6 separate regions of the Homo sapiens genome follow, and all the other regions are linked to region 5. The links are contacts of gene promoters, found by promoter capture Hi-C in blood cells and fetal thymus (Javierre and others, 2016). All regions are on one chromosome and are shown on one strand. Each heading gives the region's core, a stretch centred on a gene start or on the middle of the fragment in contact. The rest is flanking DNA. Distances are from core to core; before and after follow the strand shown.

Evidence for each region. The method cuts DNA at HindIII sites, captures the fragments that hold promoters and counts their contacts. A CHiCAGO score of 5 or more calls a contact.
Region 1: a fragment that was not itself captured here is called in contact with the fragment with the promoter of LINC02694 in region 5 in 1 of 17 cell types (fetal thymus); the score reaches 6.4 in fetal thymus.
Region 2: a contact is called between a fragment that was not itself captured here and the fragment with the promoter of LINC02694 in region 5, in 1 of 17 cell types (total CD8 T cells). The highest score is 5.7, in total CD8 T cells.
Region 3: a fragment that was not itself captured here is called in contact with the fragment with the promoter of LINC02694 in region 5 in 1 of 17 cell types (naive CD8 T cells); the score reaches 7.3 in naive CD8 T cells.
Region 4: a fragment that was not itself captured here is called in contact with the fragment with the promoter of LINC02694 in region 5 in 4 of 17 cell types (M0 macrophages, M2 macrophages, M1 macrophages and 1 more); the score reaches 10.8 in M0 macrophages.
Region 6: a contact is called between a fragment that was not itself captured here and the fragment with the promoter of LINC02694 in region 5, in 4 of 17 cell types (M2 macrophages, M0 macrophages, M1 macrophages and 1 more). The highest score is 11.6, in M2 macrophages.

Annotation. Positions count from the first base shown.
Region 1 is chr15:39,427,094-39,430,459 of GRCh38, forward strand. No RefSeq gene overlaps it. Among named protein-coding and RNA genes, the nearest start is that of THBS1, 150 kb to the right of the region's middle. The HindIII fragment of the contact is 620 bases long and covers 1,381-2,000 here.
Region 2 is chr15:39,626,320-39,629,602 of GRCh38, forward strand. All of the region lies in intron 10 of FSIP1 (fibrous sheath interacting protein 1), which reads right to left. It overlaps LOC105370785 (a long non-coding RNA gene), which reads left to right and starts at 2,109. Exons shown (of 3, transcript XR_932156.3): 1 at 2,109-2,197; 2 at 2,588-2,848. The HindIII fragment of the contact is 5,882 bases long and covers 1-3,283 here.
Region 3 is chr15:39,604,576-39,607,753 of GRCh38, forward strand. All of the region lies in intron 11 of FSIP1 (fibrous sheath interacting protein 1), which reads right to left. Among named protein-coding and RNA genes, the nearest start is that of THBS1-IT1, 20 kb to the left of the region's middle. The HindIII fragment of the contact is 3,307 bases long and covers 1-2,982 here.
Region 4 is chr15:38,001,607-38,005,050 of GRCh38, forward strand. It overlaps a transcript of TMCO5A not described here. Among named protein-coding and RNA genes, the nearest start is that of LINC02345, 37 kb to the right of the region's middle. The HindIII fragment of the contact is 312 bases long and covers 1,998-2,309 here.
Region 5 is chr15:38,695,342-38,698,849 of GRCh38, forward strand. It overlaps LINC02694 (long intergenic non-protein coding RNA 2694), which reads left to right and starts at 1,257. Exons shown (of 2, transcript NR_160786.1): 1 at 1,257-1,398; 2 at 2,797-3,508. RefSeq lists an enhancer at 1,367-1,416. The HindIII fragment of the contact is 8,690 bases long and covers 1-3,508 here.
Region 6 is chr15:37,984,588-37,987,998 of GRCh38, forward strand. It overlaps a transcript of TMCO5A not described here. Among named protein-coding and RNA genes, the nearest start is that of TMCO5A, 52 kb to the left of the region's middle. The HindIII fragment of the contact is 4,251 bases long and covers 1-3,411 here.

The DNA of each region.
Region 1 (3,366 bases), core at 441-2,940, 730 kb after region 5:
AGACCTGTAGCATCAGGCTAGAGTGCGTGCGGCTGTGGCAGCGTCTTCCAGTCCTCTGGGCTCTAAGTCTCTGCTCTGCCCATTCTGGTTGCTCTCTACGGCTGGTGCCAAATGGTTCCCGTCGCTTGGCAACAGACAGCCTGCAGTGATCTGGGTCTCGTGTCTGAGGCTGAACTAGGGACCACCCTGAATCATCTAGGGAGAGAATACAAGAACGGAGGGACTGCCCCTCACCCCAGCTTTCCTGTGGTTAACCAAACCCCTAGCTGTGTTTCCGCAACTAGCAACACCCGCTGCATTTGTCATCACAGCTGCACACGTGCCGCCGCCTTTGACAAAGACATGGTATCTGTAGCATACTTTCTGGGAAATGCTGTCTGAAGGTGCTGCATCACTGACACTTGCCGTCCAACTTGAATTGTGTAAGAAGTATTAGGCATTTTAGAAGCTCATGCAGAGACTCTGGGCTTTCTCATAAGCTAACACAAGCAGAAAAATCTACCTGCTCAGGCTCTTTTCTAAGCCAAGGATGCCAGAATTCCAACCAATTTCTGCTTTGGCCAAAGAGTATCTCAATTGCATGCTGACAAGAGCTTCAGCACAGCTACCCATCTTCATTTTCAAAACGTAGGTGCATCTAGCTCAGAAGGATAGGGTCCTGGAGACCCAGGAGAGAAAAGACAGATCCTCTGAATGTCAGAATAGGACCTTTTTCCCTGTCCTTGTGCTGTCAGCCTGACTCTCTGAGCCACAGCTCCAAGAACAGCCCTGGGGTTATAGAGGTGCAGGGCTTCTAGATAAGAAGCCAGAACAGACAGTCCCCTCTGTGTCATTTGTCGTTACACAATATCCTAACCTCACGCCTCTAGGGGGGCAGCCCAGCAAAGCCAGCAATAGCCAGAGACTGCTGGCTCTTTCTGAGCCACTCATGGTTTCAAGGTGTCCCAGATTTTAAGAGGCTGAATTTTCTTTATGCTTCCTGAGTGCTTCTATCTCTCCACTTTAACATTGACATATGCATGTATTGCAGTAATATTATTTATTCAAATCTACCATGTTCTGGGCACTGGAACAGTGCCTGGAACTGTTGCTGGAACTGTTACAGTGCCTGGAACTTCTTAGAGTATTATGTATTCAAAGTAATATCATTTATTCAACAAACAATATTATATAACTCCTTCTAGGGCTTACATTCTAATGGGGGAGCACACGATAAACAAATAATAAATGACAGTAAAATAAAACAAATAATCACATATGAAGAGGTCCTCTGTGCAGGATGTGAGGACCAACGTTTGAGCACTGGCTCTGACATAGAGTATGTGGAACCCTTATTCGCTCATGCAATCCCCAGGGAAATCCTCTTAGGAGGTACTATTAAGCTTCACTTGACAAATAGGAAAACTGAAGTCCAGACTACACAGCCTAAAAATAGTAGAACACAAATTTGAACCTGGGTCTGATGCCCAAGATCCATTATCATTCCACTTCACCATCTCTCCCCCTGAAGCAAGGTCAAGAGACAAGGAGAAGGAAGGCCAGGACTTTGAGCCTTTCCACCTCATGCAAGAGTGTCCTCTGAGCCTCCACTGCTCAACTCAAGCACGTGTTTTTAAACATTCCAAAGCACTCCCAGTTGCAAAGGAGATGTTGTAGGATGTTAGGTCTCAGCACAAGGAACCCAAACCTTCAGGGGCTCTCCTCTACATTATGCTCCCATTTTTCTCCCAAAATATCGATCTCCACCCACCCTAGACATAGAACTGGAGAATAAGTTCCAGTTTCATCCCTTTGCAGATCTTAGGGGGACCCATCAAATTCCCAGCCACTGGGTGAAAATCAGCAGCTTCTTTATAGGACCTGAGTTGCCTTCCTAGAGGATCCTAGAGGAAAAAAAAAAATCTTATCCTTCAAATACTGCTGTCTTCCAAAATACGTAAGGACGCCACGGTGAATCATAGTGGACACCCTGCATTGGTTGGGTTATTATTTATCCTAGAAGCTTGGGTTCTTGGAGCCCTAGCTTATTTAAGCAACAAAGTCCCTCACAGCCCACAGGTGAGGAAGTGAGTGTAACAAAGAGATCATTGGACCTAAAATCAAAACACCTGTCAAATCCCGGTTCTGCCACTTACTAGTTATGATCTTGAGCCAGAGACTTAATTTCTTTGAGCCTCAGATTCCTTTCTGTAAAATAAACAGTTGTGTGACTTACCTTACAAGGATCATTGTAAAAGGAAAGAAGACCTATGTAAGATTCTGTGTTGAAAGAGCTCAGTACATAATCATGTATTTTAAAAATTAGATGTGGCTTTAATTTTTAAATTTTTCTCATTAAATTTGACAGCAAATTATGTTACTTGGCTATGAATTTAAACCTTGCTTACGTCTCTTATTTCTGGGAAAAAACAAAAAACACCTGCAAGGTTATCCCACTGCTGATTCCTGAGGGGAGGTCCCTCAAGGGCACATAAGGTGACAACTCCTCCAGCATGGACAACAGCCACCCAGAGATGCCAGGGAAGAATAGAGGGAACTCTCTTCTTTTTCCAACTTTCCACGTAATTTGTAATTGTTGTTTAAACTCTCAATCCTCCTGGTGATATGATAGGCTCAACTTTCCAAGATACTGAAGTTGAAAGAGTTTAAAAAAAAAAAAAAAAAAGGTATAACCAGGAAAGTTAGCTTTAATAATCTCCATTCCAGACATTTTAACCCACTTGAAAGGGGTAATACTTACCCCCCAAAACCTAAAGGGTGACTGTTTTGAGCATGAGGTGTGGGGAATAGAGATTAGCGTGAGAGGGAGGAAAGTGTTAAAATAGAAAGAGGCAGAGAGGAAATGAAATAACCTTCCTACCTCTTATCCTTGAGTGCTTTCAAGAGCCTGTCTGGGGCCAGGAGCCCCAGGAAACACCAAGGCTGTTTCTTGCCTTCACCTTTGGGCTGTTTTTTACTGCCATTCATTAAGAAAATCTTTTCCATCAGCCTTATCATCCTTTTCTTGGCTCTTGGTCAGGTTGAGTCAGACGTGGAACATTTACTTTCACAAAGACTAACCAATCTTTTGTCTAGACGCAGATGTCTTCCACCAAAGCTTGTTGATCAGGGTCATGAAAGAGGCTGGTAAACACGTAGGCCCTTTTGTGTAACTGAACACTGTGGGGGGAAGACTGAGGACAGAGGAAATGGAGAAAATGGGGGGAGCTAGGAATTTGTTGATAGCATATAAAAGTGGGCAACTGAAAGCACTGTGAACTCTCTTTGTTTGAAAAGTGTAAGGGGACTAGTTTGTAGTATCCCTAAAAAGGTTTGCAGATCAAGAGTGGAACTGGGTTTCAAAGGCCCCAGGGCCTTTTCTTGTCC
Region 2 (3,283 bases), core at 624-3,123, 930 kb after region 5:
GAGGTGCTGTGTCTGTAAAGGATCTTCCCAAACAGGGGTTCATTTAAGGCCAGGTCAGGGGAGTGTATCCAAAACCCTCCACCTTGTACTGGTGCTGAAAGAAGGTGGAGATGTGGCATGGCCTGGAAGGTAGTACCTGGCCTTGCACAGTCTGCCCGTAGGTCAGCGATATGGTTTGGCTCTGTGTCCCCACCCAAATCTTATCTCAAATTGTAATCCTCATGTGCTGAGGGAGGGATCTAGTGGGAGGTGATTGGAACACAGGGGTGGTTTCCCCCATGCTGTTCTTGTGATAGTGAGAAAGTTCTCACAAGATCTGATGGTTTTAAAAGTGACAGTTTCCCCCGTGTGCTCTCTCTCTTGCCTGCTGCCATGTAAGATGTGCCTCTGCCTTCCGCCATGATCCTAAGTTTCCTAAGGCCTCCCCAGCCATTCGGAACTGGGAGTCAATTAAACCTCTTTTCTTTATAAATTACGTAGTATTTTTACAGCAGTGTGAAAATGGATGAATACAGTTAGACAAGGCTTCAGGTACCAGGACTTCTGCTTTCCAGAGACATGAGCCCTTAATACTTGATCAGTGCCACGATCACCAGCAGCTCCTCTGCCTCTTATTGTGAGAAGCATCTCACTAGTGTAGCACTATCTGGACCCTTCCCCCCTCACCCCAATCACAGAGAACACTCAGCTAGGCCCCACCCATATAAGAGAGACCCCTCAAAAAGATGCTCAACCCTGGGAACTGGAAAAGAAAACTGAGTATTTCCTTACATGCCCAAGAAGTTTCCCAGCAGCATACACAAGTCAAACGGCCAGGCTGCACTGACATTACACTGCTCAACGTGACTGGATTCAGATTACCCATCATCCAGACCTGTGCACTTGCCTGCTGCCGGGCTGAGCACTTGCCTGCTGCCAGGCTGAGCAGATCTAACATGGCCTGTGCTGCTCTCACAGGTGTAGACCTGGATGTCACTTCTGATGCCACTGCCATGGCCCCTCAAGTCACCCATGGGTACAGCAAGCCCCTCTTGGCTCCTTCCCAGGATTTCTTGTCTATTGCTGATGAGGTGTGAGTTGCTAATAAGGTGTGGGATGATCAGCTGGCCACTTCTAGGCTTGTACAAACCAGAAGTGCAAGAGAATTCATGCCCCTTGGGGCAGACTTTGACCAAGGGGAGAGGGAAGGCAGTGAAGGAGTTACTTTCCCCCAGAAAGACTCCCTGAAGTGCAGTCACCCACATGGCAGCTCTCTGCATATGTCCCACAAGTCACCCACATGGTATCTCTCTGCATATGTCCCACAAGTCACCCACATGGCATCTCTCTGCATGTGTCCCACAAGTCACCCACATGGCATCTCTCTGCATATGTCCCACAAGATCAATCAGCTGTACTTGCTAGCAAGCAGTAGTCAGGTCAATGATACAGCTCTTATATTTACTCTCTTTCTTTGCTTCACTTCTCTTGTTCCCCACTTCTGTTTCTCTGGTGATGCTTTCACTAATGAAGCAGCAGCAATATACTTTTGCCTCAGGCCCCACTGCTCCACACTAAGACACAATAAGCAACAGCTTCCAAGTCAGGGCTGGGCAGGGCTCTGAAGGGCAACTCGAACCAAACCAAACAGCGTGGGCCTGGAAGCACAGGGTTAGCAGCTCCAACCAGCCTCTGCAGACTGTCAACAAGGCTCACATGCTGGCACTGGCTGGGTGCAGGTACTGCAGGGTTATGGCCAACACTGTCAACGCCATAGGAGATAGGAGGCAAAGTGATGCTTCAGGATCCTTGGGGCTCATGGATTAATAGGTGGTTTCTACTGGCATATCTGGGACGAGAGCAGCAGAGTACTGTCCAAGAAGGCAAGAGTCAAAGGAGAAAATCCTTTGGAGGCCTAGGATTTACCTAGGGCAGCCAGAGGCAGCACCACTAGAGGGAGAATATGAATTGGAGCCAGGGAGAGAAAGCCAAGGTCACAGCTTAGGTTGGAGTGTCGAGATAAACAGAAAGAATGACAAGCATGAGGTATAAAAGAGGTCACGGCATGTTGTTCAGTGCCAATGCATGTCCACTGCGAAGACGTAGGAGGCCTGCTTTCATTCTGGATGGGCAGAGTGTAAGACCAGGCCAGGGGGCTAAAAGGAGTGAGGCAGGAGAAGACCCTAAAAGCCACTGAGGAATCAAAATGAGGTGCGAGGTGAGCCATGCACATGTGTGACATTCCTTCACATCTTAGACGCATCTCCAGCACCCTATCTTTAAGTTATTTCCTCGTGGCATTTTATACTCCATTTGGGAAAGCCTCTCAAGTTAAGTGTTCCTTCAGCTTGCAAACTCTCTCTCTGAAAGCAATAGAAAGCCCCAGAGGGAGAGGAAATACCCTTACCAACAGCAGAAGTTAGCAGGGGGAGGCTGACATTTCTAACTTTAGATTCCGGCTCTCTCATTCCCCAGCTGTTTGGTATTGGGCAAATCACTTAACCTTTCAAAGTCTCAGATTTCTAGTCAGTAGAGTAAAAATACTAACAACTAGCTGACTCCAAACAACTAGTTGGGAGGAATACTAACAAGCAACAATTTGCAATAGCATGAAATACCTGCGTGAAGCTGCGAGGACCATGCCTGATGCAGACGAGGCAGGAGCTCAATCAATGCTGGAACATCAATAGCAAATCTCAGCTTCCGTCTGGAAGCTGGCAGCAGCAGCAGCAGCCAGATGGCCTCTCTTGGAAGCTGTACACTGAAGCCTGTACTTTCCAAGTTCAACTGGCCCCTACTTTTGAAGATCTCTCTTGGATACCAGGAATGGAGCTTTATGGACGATCTCACAACTAGCAATTCACAATGAGTAAGCTGTCATGTGTACTCTTGTAGATTCCTGGCGCTGGGGAGGGGGTGCTACAGAGGCCATGAGATGCTGGGAGAGGGCACCCAAGAGGTAAAGATTGGCATGTGATTCTCTATCATCTATCATCGCCCTCGGAAGGTTTACACTTCAAGGCTGACACTATTAAGTCTTCAGCATCAGAAAGTACTGTATGCAGTAACCACAAAGTAACCAGAAAGGGGCTGGCTTCTAGATACTTTTACATTTGGTTAAAATAATCCCAGTCAGGGCACCAGGTGAGTCTCTTCAAGCGCAGGGCTGAAGCTAAGCCAGGTTCATCCCATGTTCCACGCACAGGGGCACGTGCCCCATTAGTCAGTTTTTCTCTTACTCCTCAGGCTGCCCCTCAGCCCTCTCTGCCTGCGCACACCCTCCTCAGGAAGCAAACTCTATTTC
Region 3 (3,178 bases), core at 79-2,578, 910 kb after region 5:
AGGTTTTATATTAAAAAATGAATTCACATTAGAAATTTCTAATATGGCATCTCTGATATTTTGACCAAATAAACTCTGGAAGAGCATTGGTTTGACTAGACAAAGGGAGGTTAAGTCACTAAGGGCATTGAAGAAGCAACGTGTAGCCTTGGAAAAGTAATTTAACAAATAGTAACTATGAGGTCTGAAGGCACACCCTGTTTGAGACAAACAGAAAACTATTAAGGCAATGATGAGTTAAGGACTTCCCTAAGAGCAATCCAAAATATTTTTAATGGAAAAGATCAGCTAATAGGGTCACTGTTTCTAGAATCTCACCGCTCTCCTGCAAACCAGTAAGACTATACTATAACAAAGAAAATTTTCTCAAACAATCTAGTTCCCTTGAAACTGTTCAGGTGGTATGACTAAGGACATATACCAACACACACCCACTTCAAACCACTGCAACACCCTTACCAAAAGTCAATCTGCCGGCAACCAGGCCTCATCCAGCAAGTTACAATCAATGGGCAAAATTTCAGCCTCAAGTATATTCAGATTATATAGTCGTCATTATTAGTAGAACTTTTTTTTTATCTGAGGATCCCAATAAGATAACATACTTAGCTTTCTTTCATCTAAACTGAAATCTATAGTTCTCAAGTGTTCACAGTGAAATCCTGTCCCTAGCATTAATTTAGCAGCCTGGACATTCCATCCCAGGAACTCTGATTTCAGCAAGTCTGGATAGGTCCTTGGACACAGCTAGAAAACAAACAAGCAAAAAACTCCCCAGATGATCTTGATACTCACTGTGGTTAGGAATAATGCTCTGCAGTTTGTAACAGGGCTTCTCAAACTTTATTGCCGGGAAGTATCACCAGGGATCTTATTAAAATGAAAATTCTCATGCCTTAGGTTGTGGGTGGGCCCTTAGGGGCCCTGCATCTCTAACAAGCTCCCAGTGGTTGGATTGCACTACAAGCAGAGGAGACTTACAACATGGAATGGAAATTCAATGTCTCCAAAGGACCAAGCCCATGAAGTAGAGAGGGCTAGGTGGGGGCTGTGTCCTCTTGGAGAATACACATGCCTTCTAAGGGGAGCATCTGCTACTCAGCTCCCGTGGGTGGTGGTAGAACTTGCTGATTTGTCAGAAATGTCAGAAATCTAGCCTTTTATGGAAAAATCTCCTGACAATGTTCAATGTTAAACGCCATGTAAGCCAACCAAGTCCAGTCCCAGAGCTAATCATTTTATTTGAATGTTCTCATTTGATCCTCATTACAACCCTACAGGGTATTAAGCCATCTTATATGATAGACAAGGAAACCAAGGTGTAGAGGAGAGAGAGAGAAATTAACTAACTTACCTAAGATCTCCATCTAGCAGCAGAGCAAGGATTCAAACCCAGGTCTTCCCTACCCAGAACCCATGTTCCTAACCACTAGGCCACTTCCCACTGGTGGGTGGTAGGCCACCCTCCCTCTGCTAATCTAGGTTCTAGCTTGGGATTCTGCTACTTACTTGGACTCCCTTAATTTGGTCCTTTGAGTAACTAATCTGCTCTTTGGTTTTATGTTCACAGTTTCAATTTAGAGTGACCAACCATTCCAGTTTGCTAGAGACTGAGGATTTCCTGGAACATGGAACATTCAATGGTAAAACCAGGACACTTCTGAGCAATCCAAGACAGTTGGCCACTATAGTTTTCATTTAGGGGTATTATTTTAAAAAGAAAACAAAACTTACATGACTCTTGTTGCATTTACTATAGGCTTTTAAACTGACACACAATTGTACATATCTATGGGATACACAGTGATATTTTAATACATACAATGTCTAGTGGTCAAATCAGGTAAATTGCATACCCATCACCTCATTTATCAATTCTCTGTGTTAAGAACATTCAAAACCTTCTCTTCTAGCTATCTGAAAATATATATTATTGTTGACTATAGTCACCCTACAGTGCTATAGACTATTAGAACTTATTCCTCCTATAAAGCTATAATTTTGTATCCTTTAACCAATAACTCCCTATCCCTTCCTCCCTGCTAACTTATACAATTTTTCAAGAATACTGTTCACTCAACAGGTCCAACGAGAAATTCCACTTTGTTTTTCTTAAAGAATTAGTGCAGTTCTGTCCCCATTTTTTACTGCACAACTGATTTTGTGTCCGTTTTTGCCCTATTTTACTATGTTTGTTATTTGCTAATACCATGTTCATCTTTATTTTATGAATTTCTGTTAATAATTAGCTCAAATGCTTAGTAGGAAGGGAGAATACTATACAAGCATAGGTGGCTTTTGCTTTGATTACCTAGAAAGCAACTCAGTATTAGATAATTTGATTAAATACTAGACTAACTCACAGACCTGATCCTTTTTGCTTCGGAAGTGCCAGTACATTCAGGATTGTCTCTGAGGTTAAGTGTGACCTGACAACACTTAATCCCCACTCTCCTCATGCTCCCACAAGGAGGAACTTGCAGTGGAAGCATCCTGGCCTCACTTCACACCCTCCACACTGTCCGTGGGAAGCTAAGTTTGGGAGATGAAATGGCATGCTCAGCTCAGCCCCTGCCTCCTCAGGAGTCAGCACCCAGCTCCCACCTGACCCTGCTCCCCAAGGCTCCATGCTTCGCTCCTCCACCCTATTGGTTTTACATGGACAGGTCTCCACAGATGATGCCTGAGATTTTCCATCTCTGCCAGTGACTGGGTGAGTACGTTTATTTTAAAGGCATAGCATTGGAAGCCTGTCTGGCTGCCCACCCGGATCATGACAATCCTCTACATTTCATTAGCAATAAAGCGAACCTCCTTGATCTCCATTTGTCAGAATCTATCTCTCTCTCAGTCGGTTCTGACCTGGGTGGGGAAGAGAAGAGTGCTAGTTATTTGTCCCGTAAAACCCCAGTAACTAGTGAGTACAATGCTGAATTTACTGAACCTTGTATTCAAAAATTCAAATAATACTGGTTACCATGAAGCTTAAAGCACAAACATTGATAATGTGTTTCACATTGAAAATTTTTAATACAACTGATAGGCAAATCCTTATTTTTCAATACCACCATTTAAATTGGTCTTCAAGGTCACTGAGTTTGGTTTTAGTTTTGAAGCCTTATCTGACTCTGCCTTTTAGAAGCACAATTGAAATAGTTGGAACAGACCTCAGCACATC
Region 4 (3,444 bases), core at 904-3,403, 690 kb before region 5:
TGTAGGTGATTTTCTCTGGTGGTATGTTTCAATTTCTTGCTTTTTGTTTTGGTACATCTGTTGCATGTTTTTTGATTTGAGGTTACCATGAAGCTTATAAATAATATCTTATAACTCCTTATTTTAGACTAAGCTCAACTTAATGCTGATTGCTTAAACAAAGTAACAAGCAAGCAAAGAGAGAAGTAATACAAACTCTACACTTTAAATTCATCCCCCACTTTTTAACTTTTTGTTGTTCCTATTTATATCTTATTATATTGTCTGTGTTTTGAAAAATTTTTGTAGTTACTATTTTTGATAGGTTCATCTTTTAGTCTTTGTACTCAAGATATGAGTAGATTACACACCACAATTATTGTGTTATAATATTCTGTCTTTCTGTGTACCCACTATTACCAGTGAGTTTTGTATCTCCAGATGATTTCCTAATGCTCACTAATGTCCTTTTCTTTCAGACTGAGGAAGTGGATTTAGCATTTCTTGTAGGACAGGTCTAGTATTGATGAAATCCCTCAACTTTTGTTTGTCTGGGAAAGTCTTTATTTCTCCTTCATGTTTGAAGGATATTTTCACAGGGTATGCTACTTTAGGATAAAAGGTTTTTTTTTTTTCCTTCTGCATGTTACTTATTTCTTTTCTCTTGCTGCTTTCTTTATCATTGACCTTTGGGAGCTTGATTATTAAATGTCTTGAGGTAGTCTCATTTGGATTATATCTGCTTGGTGTTCTATCACCTTCTTGTACTTAAATATTGATATCTTTCCCTAGGTTTGGGAAGTTCTGTTATTTTCTCTTTAAATATACTTTCCACCCTGGTATCTCTCTCTCTCTTTCTCTCTCTCTCTTTCCTCTTTAAGGCCAATAACTTTTAGGTTTGCCCTTTTGAGACTATTTTCTAGATCTTGCATTTATGCTTCATTCTTTTTTATTCTTTTTTTTCTTTTGTCTTCTCTGGTTGTGTATTTTCAAATAGCCTGTCTTCAAGCTCACTAATTCTTCTGCTTGATCAAGTCTACTGTTAAGAGGCTCTGATGTGTTCTTTAGTATGTCAATTGTATTTTTCAGCTCCAGAATTTCTGCTTGATTCTTTTTTTAAAATTATTTCAATCTCTTCATTAATTTCATCTGATAGGATTCTGAATTCTCTCTCTGTGTTATCTCAAATTTTGTTGAGACTCCTCAAAACAGCTATTTTGAGTTCTCTGTCTGAAAGGTCACATATCTCTGTGTCTTTGGTACTGGTCACAGGTGCTTATTTCATTCATTTGGTGAAGCCATTTTCTGGGTAGTCTTGATGCTTGTAGATGTTTGTGGGTGTCTGGATGTTGAAGAGTTAGGTATTTATTATAGTCTTCTCAGTCTGAGCTTGTTTGTGCCCATCCTTCTTGGGAAGGCTTTCCGAGTCCCTTTTCAAAGAGATTTGGGCACTGTGATCTAAGTCTTTGGTCACTGCAGTTGCATGTGCATTAGGGGGCACCCTAAGCCCAGTGATGCTGTGGCTCTTGCAGGCTTGTAGAGGTACTTCCTTGATGTCTTGAGTGAGACCTGAGAGAATTATCTGGATTATCCAGCAGAGACCCTTGTTCTCTTCCCTGACTTTCTCCCAAACAGAGTCTCTCTCTCTCTCTCTCTCTCTCTGTCTCCTCCCATCACTCTCTCCCCACTTGAAGCTAGGGGAGGAGTGACAGAAGCACTCCTGTGGCTACCACAACTGGGATTGTGCTGGGTCAGACCCAAAGCCAGCACTGGGGTCTCACTCAAGGCCCGCAGTTACCACTGCTTGGCTATCACCTATGTTCATCAAGGCCTAAGGGCTCTGTAACCAGCAGGTGGTAAATCTAGCCAAGCTCATGTCCTTCCTTTCAATGCAGTGAGTTATCCTTGGCCCATGGTGGGTGTGGGTCCAGAGATGTCATCCAGGAGCCAGGACCTGGAGTCAAGAACCTTAGGGATCTACTTGGTGCTTTATTCTACTACTGCTGGGCTGGCACCCAAGCTTTAAGACAAAGTCCTTCTCACTCTTCCCTCCTCTTTTCTCAAGCAGATGAGTCTCTCCCCATGGTCACCACTGCCCCAGGCCCACAACAAACAGTACCTGGCTACCACCATGTTCACTCAAGGCCCAAGGACTCTTCAGTCAGCTTGTGGTGCATGTTACCAGGCCTGGGATTCTCTTTTCAGGGAAATAGGCTCCTCTGTGGCCCAGGAAGGATCGAGAAATGCTGTCCAGGAGCCAAGGCCTGGAATCAGGAACCCCAGGAGCCCACTTGGTGCTCTACACCGCTGAGTAGAGCTGGTGGTACCCAAGCTTCAAAACCAAGTCCCCTTACTCTTCTTACCTCTTCTTTCCTTAAGCAAAAGGAGTCTCTTTTTGTAAGGCCCACAGCTGGGAATGTGCTGGGTCACACATGAAGCCAGCATGGCTCTGAGTCTCACCCAAGGCCCAAGGTGAATACTGCTTGGTTGCTACTGCTGATTATTCAGGACCCAAGGGCTCCTTAATCAGTAGGTGATAAATTCTGCCAGGACTGAGTCCTTCCCTTCAAGACAGCGGGTTTCCTTCTAGCCCAGAGTGTGTCTAGAAATGTCATCTGTGAGCTAGGGCCTAGAAAAGAGGCCTCAGGACTCTGCCTGGTGCCCCATTCTACTATGGCTGAGTGGATATCCAAGTTCCAAGACAAAGTCCTCTTTACTCTTCCCTCTCTTCTCCTCAAGCAGAAGGAAGAAGTTTCTCCCTGTGCTGCCTGGGGTTGGAGGAGAGGTGACCTTCCCCTGGCCACCCCATCTGGTCATGTGTGCCCCAAGTCCACTGGCTCTGAGCCAAGCACCGCACTGAGATTTGCCCAGGAATTGCAGTGCTTGTGGCTTAGACTGCCTTTCAAGTTTATTTTGAACCCCACAGCAGTTTAGCCAACAGTGGTGCTGGTGAAGCTTGTTGGAACTCAGGTTCCAACAGCCAGGATAAGTGATTCTCCTCTGGCTAGGGCTGGCCTAAATGCTCCCTCCGTGGGTGCCAACTGAGTTCTGCCTTCTGTTGCTTTCCACTGTGATAGGACAACACTGAGGTCATATGTAAAATTGCACAGTTACTGCATTCACCCTCCCCAAAGTGCACAGATTCTCTCTGAGCCAAATGGGTTAAGGGAGAAGTGATGGAGGCGATTCGAAGCTGTCTTTCCTACCCTCTTCAGTACCTCTTCCAGTGATGTGAAGTTAAAACCAGGTATTGTGATTGTTCACCTCAGTTTTCAACTTCATGAAGGTGCTTTTCTTGTATTGCTTAATTTGTTGTTCCTCTGGGGGGGTGTATAATTGCTGGAGGCTTCTATTTGGCCGTCTTGCTCTCCCTTCTGTTGAAGAGTAAAAAGATTTGTCACTATTAGACAGAATTCTCATGTGACAATAATTGCTCAAACAGAAATAACAGCTATTAACAGAGTA
Region 5 (3,508 bases), core at 7-2,506:
AGGTGAATTATGTAACTTTGCTTCAGAAGCCACATCTACCTGTAATCAGCCATCAGAGGCTGAGGAAGGTCAGATTATCTTGTGTCTTCCTTATCATCGCCATCACTATCAGCAGCAGCAGCAGCAGCAGCAGCAGCAGCAGCAGAGTTCTCTGTCACACTCTATTACTAAAGCTAAAGATTGCATGTGATTATAGATATTTATTATTCTGGTCATTGTCATGGTGATCTTTGCGGAAAGATATTAGAGGAAAACTCCCTCCTAGTCATATCTGGAGGCCAATGTCCTTAAACAGAAAACTGGGGTCATACCCTGTAAAACCTATCAGACCAAGTAATCCAGAGCTGGGATGGGGGCAGGATCTCTTTAGAGTAAGACTTGCCTTCCAAGCCACATAACTGTCATCTGGAGCTTGTCACTGCTGACAATTTTCCTCCTTGCTGCCAGCTTGCTCTGTATCACGCAGGGCTATCATCAGTAACTTAGCCCTAAGAGGGGTACAGGAAAGATTAAAAAAAGGAATGCTATATTTGTGGGGGAATCATTCTCTAAAAGTCTCCCTTGCCAGCAAATTTTAAGTGGTAGGAGCAGTGGTTGTCACCACAGCTGGCACTTTGGGTTTTGTGGTGTGAAGCAAAGGCTTTTTAACTGAGAGAGGACTGGTGCCCATTCCTGGTGGCAGCTCCTGCCACTGGAAGCCTGGTTGGCCAGAATGTGATGCTGTGATGGGGACTGCATCTGGATCCCAGCTGTCAGGACCTGGCTTCCAGATCTGAATTCTAGAGCAGAGGGAGGGAAGGCAGAACACCTACCAGCACACTAATGTTTCAAGTTTGGCCTAGAGCAAAGAGCCTGAGTTGCTGTTGGCCAAACGTTGGCCTGTGTTTGTCAGACTGGGCTGAAGACTTCCTCCCTGGTCTATCCTTCACCTCTTATGCCACAGTTTTGGGAAACACTGTGCTCAGCAAGCTGAACTGCTTCTTGGGTGTGCGACTAGGGTGCCAGCCAGGCCAGGGACGTCCAGGACTGGAAGAAATGCAGGGGCAGGACCACAGCACAGGCTGATCAGGAGGCTGCCCCACCAGGAGCTCTGCTGAAGGCTGCATCCTCTCTGCTGAGAGTCAACCACTGTGCTGACTCACCATCCTTGTGGTTGAGAACCCATCAGCAAATTGGTGGCTCTGATGAGCCCTGGAGCTGCAAAATATAGGCCGGGGTACCTCAGCCGGAAGGGACTTCAGTTAGTGACAGGTTTTCTGTTCTGATATGGAGCTACAAGGGGCCCAAGAGGACCTGGGCATTTCCCTCTCTAGTCCCCGGAGGAACCATGAAACCAGGCCAGGAAGCAAGGCTAAGGGCAGGAGCAGCATCTGTCTCCAGGCGTCTGTTTGGATGGCTGTAAGTCCCACCTTGCTCTGTTTTTTTCTGCTATGGCTGAACCTGGATCTAGCAGGGTTCTCAGTTTCTGCTATGGCTGAACCTGGATCTCAGTCCCCTGGTGAGCTTAGCTCCTGCCTCCCAGAGAACTGGAATGACCTTATTCAGACACCTCCAGCCTGTATAAGTCAGGGGCAAGGACTGGGGAGTCAAGAGGGTTAAGGGAGTGAGAGGTGAGAGTTACAATCTACATTGTATTTTATGTCAACAGCATCCCCTGGAGTACTGCAAAGCTCTAAGTCAGATATCCCAGTGGGGGGCATCACCCATCCTAGACTTTCTCCCCTGCCCCATGCCCCTTATACCAACATCAATTCAGCACATAGCACTGTACTTGGCCATTAAGATAGTAAATAAATGCCTGGTGAATAGTTTGATAGACAGAAAGATGCCCACTCCCCCAACCCAAAGATGTTTACATTCTCATTCCTAGAAACTGTAAATATGTTATCTTAATAGCAAACAGGATTTTGCAAGTGTGGTTAACATTAAGGATCTTGAGATAAAGAGATTATCCTGGATTATCCGAATGGGCCTAATCTAATCCTAAAAAGCAGACAGGCTTCCCTGGGTGCAGTCAGAGACAGAAATGCAGCTAGGGGAATTGGAGTCAAAGAGAGGGCCATGAGAGAAGGATTCCATGCCCTGTGGCTGGTTCTGAGAGGTAGGGACTCTATGTAAGGACAGAGCAAATGTCTTCTAGGAGTTCAGGGTGGCCCCAGTTAGCAACCAGCAAGGACCTCAGTCTTACAGTCCCACGGAACTGTCAAGACCAGAATGAGCAAAGATAGTGATGCACCCCCAGAGCTGCCACCAAGGAACGCTGTCCTGCCGAGACGTTGATTTTAGTCCTATGAGACCCATAGGACTTCTGGCCCATAGAACTAAATGATAGTGTGTGTTTTAAGCTGCTAAAGTTTTGGTAATTTATTATAGTAGCAACCGATAATAGAAATGGCTATAAAATGGAATGTATTTTGTAACTGAACATAATTTTCTTGCCTCTGGTGTCCCTAATTTCCTTGGTGGCTGGCAGTCATAGAGAAGTCCTTTTCCATGGTTAGCTGTGTGCCAGTGACGGGGAGGGCATCCTTACTCTGGTCTCAAGTGCTTCTTGGCACCCCTGGGTTTACTTTTTTGCTGATGTCCCCTGGCATAGGTGTTGCTAGAAGCTGGCGTTTTTAGGAAGCACGTAGAACTCTCTGCTCCTTCATAGTCAGTCAGTGGCTCCATCCCAGGCAGGTGCTCCAGACCCATCCCATTCATTAGTCATCTATTCTGTACAAGAAACTTGATGAATTTTATTTCATTTAATTCTAACAACTATATGAATTAGGTAATGTTATCCCCATTTTACAGGGAGGAAAGCTGAGGCTCAGAGCAAGTGAACATCTAACCCAGGGCCACCAACAAGAGCTCAGGGATTGGAATCTGGGAGAAGATGCTTCCCTTCTCTTCTCCAAGAGTCCTTTTGGGGCTGGCAAGTTGATACAAGCTCCAGCTCATGTCTTCAGACAATGCTGGGTCCAAGGAAATGCATGGATCTCCTGCATTACAAAGTTTGACTCCAAGAGAAGCCCAGAAGTGGCTTCCAGCCCCTCCTACCTAACTGTGCCCCGCCGTTCACCACTTCCTGTCTTCCTGCGACCCAGTGACAGATGTGTCTGTGGGGGCTGCTACTTGGGAAAGTCCACCAGGAGGAGAGCATGCCAATCTCTCCTCTCAGATCCTCTGGGGGTTACTTTCCCCACCCAAACTAGGCCTTGATGTCAAGGCCTAGTTACAGGGATGTCAAACTAGGAGGTTGATGTCGGTGTGGTGTGTAAGATGTTGGGGAGAAGCTGCAGGTGCCTTCTTACCAGCTCTTCCTGAAAACTTGTCTCTCCCTCTCCTTGTTAGTCTGTTTTATAACTCACACTCCAGCCGGGGGGAAGTAAAGGAGCTTATCCCGTTCACAGATCCTGTAACCCATGGTGGTTATTACCTCATAGCTGGTGCAGTGTTCTTTGAGCCTAGCAGTTTGGTTTAGACTCAAGTGTCTATTCTTTGCAGTCTTTCTGGGGTTGGTAGC
Region 6 (3,411 bases), core at 477-2,976, 710 kb before region 5:
ATTGAAACCTATCACCAAGGCAATGGAGTTACAAGGCAGGGCCTTTGGGAGGTGATTAATGTCCTTAAAAAAGAGGCTGCAGAGAACATTTGTCTTTTTTTTTTTTTTTTTTTTTTTTTTTTTGCCTTTCCACTCTTCCACCTTGTGAGGACACAGCAACAAGCTGCCCTCTTGGAAGCAGAAAGCAGCTCTCACCAGACATCAAATCTGCCAGCACATTGATCTTGGACTTCCCACCCTTCAGAACTGTGAGACATTTCTGTTGTTTATAACTCACCCTGTCTATGGTATTTTGTTATAGCAGGAGAAATGGACTAAACTACTCTTACAAGTGAATTTTGGAAGAAAGAAAGAGTCATGTCTGAACTTTAGGTCAATGCTGGATTGGAGATAAACAAATAGCCATTAGTTATAGAATGAAGTATTCCACAAATACTAGAAGAAAGTATTTGTAGAAATGTTCAGGGAAAAAAAAAAAACAACAGAACAGAACATAGAATGGGGGATGGAGCAAGGCAATCTTAGAATCAAAGAGTGGGTGGCTTCTTCTGACATCTAGATTATAGAAGATTCTTCAACAGTGTTGTCTTCTTTCCTCTTCATTCTCTCAAAGAAGTCAATAAAAGCTCCCTCTCACTTTCCCACCACACAAGAGGCAAACCATGTGGAAGGTTATAGAATTCCACCAGATTTTAATTGTGAGGTTGTAGGGTAGGTAGGTGTTAATTTTTCTCCTAAAATTAGAATGATTTTCCCTGGGTTGTTTTATTGGATTCCATGCTCTGCTGTAAGAATATTTTAATGCAAATGAACTAAAATTGTATAATTTTTTGCTGTCATCTTTCATCCAAAGCACATAAAATTCCTAAGTTTCACTCAAATTTCTAGCAGTACATTGTAAATTTCTTAAAGTACTGTGGATAGCTATAGAAAATGTTGTACTTAACTATGCTAAGAAAATATTTTTTAAACAAAATTTTCTGTTTATTCTATTTTTAGAAAATAATCAGTTAAATTGACTTTCTCACCTCTAGACACTTCTCAGAGAACCATGAAAACAAATTCAAGGCAGAATAGTGACCTTCTTTGAGTCCCTTTAATTCATTATCTGCATCTGCATCTCCATTCTGATGCAAGTAGATGGACGTTTTGCCTTGGTCATTCCTGTTAATTGAAAACACTCTGTTATCTTTTCTAAAATCAAGTTATGTTCTTGAGAGTGTATTTATTTTAAAAGATTCTGAAACTCAATTTCTCACTAATTCATATTAGCTTTTCTTTCATATCAGCTTTTTTTTTAAAATTAACTTGTACTCTATTCTCTGTGGAGTTAATATCTTGGTTGGAACCTTTCCACTCAAGAAATAAATGGTCCAGTGAAGGAAGTAATGTGCCATTATCATCCTTATGCTTTGAAAATCTGTAGAATTTTGGAACTAGAAAAAAACAACTGAGACAATTGAGTTCTAGAGAAGTTGGGTTACACAGATAACTAGTACTAGAAGGCAGAACACACAGAATCATAGAAACTTGGGTTTATAAGAGATTTTGAAGGGCAGTTAGTTCAATCTCTCAAATATATTTTTAAAGAGAGGCTTGCACATAGTGAACATTCAACAAATAGAAATTAAATGAATGTAGAAATGTACATACTGACCAGCCTAGTGATTACTCAGCTTCTGCTTAGAAGCCATAAAGAAAAACCCCAATAAAAGTATTTTCAAATTTGAAATATAACTGAATAAAACTCTTTCTGATGGAAGCGAAAAAAGAGCCAAGGGGGGTAAGGGATGGTGTGTGTGTGTGTGTGTGTGTGTGTGTGTGTGTGTGTGTGTGTTTAAATCAAGCATTTTTATTGTGGTAAAAAATACATACGAAATTTTTCATCTTAATAATTTTTAAGTGTACAGTTCAGCAGCATTAAGTACATTCACACTTTTGTGTAACCATCACTGCCATCCATCTCCAGAGGTCTTTTTATCTTGCAAAACTGATACTCTGTACCCATTAAACAATATCTCCCCATTTCTCTTTCTCCCAGTCCCTGAAAAACACCAATTTACTTTCTATGAATTTGACTACTTTAGGTACCTCATATAAATGGAATTACACAGTATTGGTCTTTTCATGACTGGTTTATTTCACTTTATATGTCTTCAAGTTTCATCCATGTTGCAGCATACAAGATTCCCTTTCTTTTTAAGACTGAATAATTCATCTGTTAATGGACACTTATGTTGCTTCCACATTTTAGCTATGGTGAATAATGCTGCTATGAACATCGGGGTACAGATATCTCTTCAAGATTTTCCTTTCAATTCTGGCTGTATATCCAGAAGGAGAATTGTTGAAACACATGATAATTCTATTTTGAATTTTTTAAGGAACCACCATACTGTTTTCCATACAGTAGCTGCCCCACTTTACATTTTGACCAATAGTGCACAAAAGTTCCAATATCTCCACACCTTCATCAACATACATTTTTTGTATTTTTGATAGTAGTCATCCTAATGTGTGTAAGGTGATATCTCACCATGTTTTTTATTTTCACTTTTCTAATAATTAGTGATGTTGAGCATCCTTTCATGTGCTTACTGACCATTTGTTTATATCGTCTTTGAAGCAATGTCTATTCAAGTCATTCACCTATTTTTAATTAAGTTGTTATTATTGAGTTATCTCTATATTCTGTATATTAATCCCTTATCAGACATATACTTTGCAAATATTTTCTCTCATTTTGTGGGTTGCCTTTTTACTCTGTCAATTAAGTCTTTTGAGGCCAAAAGTTTTTAATTTTTATGAAGATCAATTTGTTGTTGTTTTTGTTTTGTTGCTTAGGCCTTTGGTGCTATATCTAAAAAATTGCCAAATCTAGTGTTATAAAGACTTTGTCCTGTGTCATATTTTATGTTTAGGCTTTTGATCCATTTTGAGTTAATTTTTGCATACGATGTTATGTAAAGGTCAAAATTGATTCTTTTGCAATGTGGTCATACAGTTTACCCAGGACTGTATGGTGAAAATACTAACCTTTCCCCCAGTGAATTGTCTTGGCACACTTATCAAAACTCATTTGACTATATATGTGAGGATTTATTTTTGGGCTCTCTATTCTGTTCCATTGGCCAATGTGTCTGTCTTTATGCCAGCACCACTCTGGTTTGATGACTGTGGCTTTTTAGTAAGTTTTGAAATCAGGAAGTATAAGCCTCCCATCTTCTTTTTAAATATTATTTTAGCTATTTATCGTCTCTTAAGATTCCATGTAAATTTTAGGATAAACTTTTCTATTTCTGCCCAAAAAAAAGTCATTGGGATTTTGATAGGCATTGCACTGAATTTGTATACCACTTTGGGTAACATTGACATCTTAGCAATTTTAAGTCTCCCAATCCATGAATGTAA